Regions from separate parts of the Homo sapiens genome. Here region 2 is linked to region 1. The links are contacts of gene promoters, found by promoter capture Hi-C in human tissues and cell types (Jung and others, 2019). All regions are on one chromosome and are shown on one strand. Each heading gives the region's core, a stretch centred on a gene start or on the middle of the fragment in contact. The rest is flanking DNA. Distances are from core to core; before and after follow the strand shown.

Region 1 (2,759 bases), core at 249-2,748:
ACTCACAGCTAATTCTCAAAAGGACCTATCACCCCTAATTTTTAAGAACCACTGAAATTAATATTTTCATCTGCTCCTCTCTTGCACTATTCAGCACTTCCACCTCATTAAACATTTATATATATATTATATATATTTCTATAATATATATATATAATTAATTAATTCCCTAAACTTTGCAGAAAAAAAATCGAAGCCCAGAGAGGGTAAGTATCTTGCCCAAGTTTGCACAGCTGATGGTCAGGATTGGGATTAGCAGCACTTCCCTGGTCAAGTGAAGCACGATTTCAGGTGGGAAATCTTGCCCGGTCAACTTGACAAATGAAGACAAAGTGATCCCTCCAGACTAATAATAATGTTTTGCAACCATTTTCAAGTCCAGTCATAGAATCCCCTACGTTGCTTGTTTTCAGGGCAGTGTGGGTTGCTTCCCCAGGATACAGGTAGAGGTCACTAAAAGGATAGTTTTCTACTCAAAGAGCCAGAACTCCAGCCCTTGCCTTCCCCTGCCGTAGCACTCGGGCCGGCCCTCCAGTTACCTGAGTTTGCCTGACTTTAACCAACTCCTCTTCCCTTCCCTCCTCCCTTCTCCAGCGGGCTCTCCTTCCAGCTTCCTCCCGGGCTGCAATTCCTCTGCCTAGGTGCCTCCGTCCAGCTCCGGCTTCTGGCCCGGAGGCTGCTCATCTGCCCCTACCCCCGCTGACTTTTGGGAGGAGCAACACCTTTCAGGTCAGCATTGCTAACCCTAAACTTTCCCCGCCGGATGCCCGCGAGGCTGCTGCGGCGGCGGCTGCTGCTGATGGGAGAGTCTCGAGTCCGGCTTTCATCACATCACCTGTCTGCGCCCCTTCCCCCTCCCCGCTCTTTTTTTCTTTTCTTTTTATTTTGACGCAAATAATTTGCATTCTGAGAATCCCACAATCAACGCCGAAACTCATGCTCAAGGATACAGGTGAAGATGCCTTTGACAAAGGCGAATGCGAGCCGAGTGCAGTTTGTAAAAGCTGGGGTTGGGGGCAGTGGTGGAGGCAAAGCACCTTAAGAGTATTTTTTAGCCCCTCTGAGAAGGGACATCCGGGCGGGAGGCGGGCGGATCCCGGGCTTCCCCGCCGGCTGCCGACTCTGGCTCCTGGCTGGCGTTCTCTCCAGGAGCCCGCGCCGGTGGCCCCGCTCTCCCCTTCAGCACGCGGGCCTCGAACCCGCATCCCGGAGAGCGGCCGCCCGCGCAGCCCCTGCCGCGCGCCGTCGGAGGCGGCCTCAGCTCGCCATGGGTACTCACTTTTGCCAGGGAGCAAAGTCTGCCACATCAGTCGATGAGTACTTCCTGCACGAGGACATGAAGCTCCATTGTGTGGAAAGCTGTTTCGCGAACGGTCGGTAAAATCCAGAAAGAGGGAGAAGGAGTGAGTAAGGCAGAAAGCCCAGCCCAGAAAACCGGCGTCTGGGGATTTCAGCCTCCGCTCCCCGGTCCCCAGCCCGGTGGCTCTGTGAGAAGAAGCTCAACTCGGTGCACTTGTTCACTCTTTCTTCATGAGAGGAGGAGTCAGTGTTGCAACATTTATGTTCCTTGCTGGAGGCAAAACAGTGATTTTCTTCAGCATGCAAAACGTCCAGAGCCTGCCAGTTTTAGAAGGCGACGGAGGTAGTTGGGGGAGCTGGAATCCTGCGAAGACCTGAAGAAACAACTGATTCCCCCCAGATCGGTTTTGCATGATTAGGGCCACATATCTTTCATTGAGACTGTACCAGAAAATAGACAGACAAAACAATAATAAAAATGACTTAGTGAGTTGAATGACCTCAAAGATGATATTTTTCCAGGCAGCCAAGATGTGGAGTGTCTCCGTGTCAAATTTCTTTCCTTATTTCTGAGTAACATTGAACAGCAGCTATATTTGAGAGGTTCTCCAGGGATTTGAATTGCACCTTGCCTGAGGAGTCAGATAGAAAGGAGCAAAAGAAGATAGTCAGTGACCTAAGAAGGTTTTGCTTTTTTTTTTTTTTAATACCCAAAGCGCAAACTTCTAGTGTGCTGTGTTTATTCTCTGCCATATGAATATAATAAACATTGGCGGTGCCTAAATAGCCCCACTTCTGTTGTTTTCCACAAATAAAGAATTTATCTTTTCTAATGGGCTGCATGTTGTTCTGACTTTTCTTCTTCTTGAAACCACACACAACCGCCTTTTCTCTTGCAAAAACAAAAACCCCACATTTAACAGTGCTGAAACAAATAATAGCACCTGCCTGAATCAAATAGTTATTTCTGACTATGTATGTTGCTGGTGTCATTTGATGCCATAATAATTAATGCATCCGATTGTTACACAACCCAGAGGGCCACCAAGGAAATACTTTAAACCAAGGTTACTGAGTTTTTTTTTTTGTTTGTTTTTGTTTGTTTTTTTGAGACAGAGTCTCGCTCTGTCGCTCAGGCTGGATTGCAGTGACCCCATCTCGGCTCACTGGAACCTCTGCCTCCTGGATTCAAGCAATTGTCCTGCTTCAGCCTCCCGAGTAGGTGGGACTACAGGCGCGTGCCACCATGTCCGGCTAGTTTTTTGTATTTTTAGTAGAGATGAGGTTTCACCCTGTTAGCCAGGATGGTCTTGATTTCCTGACCTCATGATCCACCCACCTTGGCCTCCTGAAGTGCTGGGATTACAGGCGTGAGCCACTGCGCCTGGCCGTTTTTTTTTTTGTTTTGTTTTAAGTTATTGAAACATGAGGCTTTCCCCTTTGATTTGACTGCTACTCTG
Region 2 (2,700 bases), core at 25-2,524, 130 kb before region 1:
ATTAAAAAAAGTTAACTGTAAAATAGCCTCAGGCAGATCCTTCAGGAGGTATTCCAGAAGGCATTGTTGTCATGAGCTGACAGCTCCGTGCATGCTATCATCCTTGAGGAACTTCAAGTGGGACAAGATGTGGAGGTGAAAGACAGCAATAGGGACGATCCAGACACTATGTAGTTCTAGGCTAATGTGAATGTTTGTGTCTTAGTTTTTAATGAAAAAGTTTAAAAAGTAAAACAAAAAAACTTTTAAAAATAGAAAAAAGTTTATAGTATAAGCATATAAAGAAGGAAAATGTTTCTGTACAGCTGAACAATGTGTTTGTGTTTTAAGCCAAGTATTATTACAAAATAGTCAAGGCCAGGCACGGTGGTTCACGCCTGTAATCCCGGCACTTTGGGAGGCTGAAGCGGGCAGATCATGAGGTCAGGAGTTTGAGACTAGCCTGGCCAACATGGTGAAACCCCGTCTCTACTAAAACTACAAAAAAAATTAGCTGGGCCTGGTGGCTGGCATCTGTAATCCCAGCTACTTGGGAGGCTGGGGCAGGAGAATCATTTGAACCTGGGAGGCGGAGTTTGCAGTGAGCCGAGATTTGCAGCGAGCCATTGCACTGCAGCCTGGGCGACAGGGCGAGACTCTGTCTCAAAAAAAAAAAAAAAAAAAGTCAAAATGAGTTTAAGAAAGTTTATAAAGTTAAGTTACAGCAAGCTAAGGTTAATTTATTACTGAAGAAAAAAATTTAAAAAAAATTTGGTGTAGCTTAAGTGTACAGTGTATATAAAGTCCACAGTAGTGTACAGTAATGACCCAGGGCTTCACATTCAGTCGCCACTCATTCACTGACTCACCCAAAGCAACTCCCAGTCCTGCAAGCTTTATTCATGGTAAGTACCCTTTACAGGTGTACCATTTTAAAAAATCTTTTATACTGTGTTTTTACTATACCTTTCCTATGTTTAGATACACAAATACTTACCATTGTGTTACAATTGCATGTAGTATTCGGTAAAGTAAAATGTTGTATACGATTGTAACCTAGGAGCAATAGGCTATCCCATATAGCCTAGGTGTGCAGCAGATTATCCCATCTAGGTTTGTGTAAGTACACTTTATGATGTTCAAGCAACAACAAGATAACCTAAGGATGCATTTCTCAAAAAGTATCCCCATTGTCAAGCGATGCATGACTGTACTTCTAGCCTAGTCCTGGTCTTTAAAGCTTTTTACATATTCCCCCCTCTATTTCTCTCTCCTCCATTACTGGCCTGAAGAAGATGAAATTGAGGACTGTGAGGTCCTAAAAGCTCAGTACAGCCAACAGATGAAAGGCTCTTGAGTTCATGCTGACCACCAGCAAACTGTCACATGGGTGAGAAATAAACCTTTGGCTGTTGTGCTCTGAGCTAAGAGGCTGGGTGTTATAATGGCTAGCTTTATTTAGTTGGGCAAATCTAGGGACAATCCAGAGACAACCAGTACAGCCTACTGCAGATGGTAACTACTACATTTAACCAAGTAGAAGAGCAGTGATTAAGACGGAAGCCTCCAACGCCTGACCCACTGCCATTGTCCCGTCTGGAATACCATCATCAAAGTTCCAGAACAATCTCAGTTTGGCTTCATCTACATATTCAGCCCCCTACACTGTCACCTGTAAACATGTCTACAGGTGTTCAACAACACCTGTTGGGTGACTATTTTTATAAAGTCATATAGAATGCAGTATTCTCATGTACAGATCCACGGAAACAGCACTTGGCCTTGAGTTGTGCAACTCTTTTCCATTAATCAACAGGCTCTCCATATTCCTAAGGGATAGGTTCTGAGACCTTCTTGATTCCTCCAGTAACCTCTTTGTGTGCATTAATTTGAACTCAAGGGCAGATGGATGATGAAGCCCACTGAGATGTGGCTGCAAGGTGGTTGGGTTAGTAGCTGAAGTGAATAAAAATCGCAATATCAGAAATCAAGGAAATGTGGAGACTTCAAGAACTGGGACAACCTCCATTGTGAAATCTTCAACTAGCAAGGCAATAATAATTCTCAGCCCATTCTTCCTTTTCCTTCATAAATGCACACAATTAAAACATATTTTTCTGGCATCATCATGTCTAAATATCTAAAGCACACCCTTTCAGGAATGAAAACACATATATATATAAAAACATACATATATAAATATAAAACATATATAAAACATATATATAACATATATACATATAAAACATAAATATACCTTATAAAACATATATATAACTTATAAATAACATATATATGTTTTATATATTATATATATATATATTTTTGAGATGGACTCTTGCTCTGTCACCCAGGCTGGAGTACAGTGGCGCAATCTCGGCTTTCTGTAACCTTTGCCTCCCAGGTTCAAATGATTCTCCTGCCTCAATCTCTGGAGTAGCTGGGATTACAGGTGCGTGCCACCATGCCCAGCTAATTTTTTTGTTTTTTTAGTAGAGACAGGGTTTCACCCTGTTGGCCGGGGTGGTCTCCATCTCTTGACCTCGTGATCTACCCGCCTCGGCCTCCCAAAGTGCCGTGATTACAGACGTGAGCCACCACGCCCGGCCAAACTTTTAATCTATTGGGTGCACACTTCTAAAAATGAGGCGCTTCTCTGATTTCCTAATTGAAACTTTTTATGGAGTACTGGGGTCATTTATGAACATAAAAATTATGGTG

What was found. Contacts are between HindIII fragments. The study calls those that stand out against the background at their distance.
Region 2: a fragment that was not itself captured here is called in contact with the fragment with the promoter of PRLR in region 1 in 1 of the 25 tissues and cell types used here (H1 embryonic stem cells).

Annotation. Positions count from the first base shown.
Region 1 is chr5:35,228,989-35,231,747 of GRCh38, forward strand. It overlaps PRLR (prolactin receptor), which reads right to left and starts at 1,499. Exons shown (of 10, transcript NM_000949.7): 1 at 1,280-1,499. The HindIII fragment of the contact is 8,302 bases long and covers 1-2,759 here.
Region 2 is chr5:35,099,540-35,102,239 of GRCh38, forward strand. All of the region lies in intron 2 of PRLR (prolactin receptor), which reads right to left. Among named protein-coding and RNA genes, the nearest start is that of AGXT2, 53 kb to the left of the region's middle. The HindIII fragment of the contact is 4,719 bases long and covers 1-2,700 here.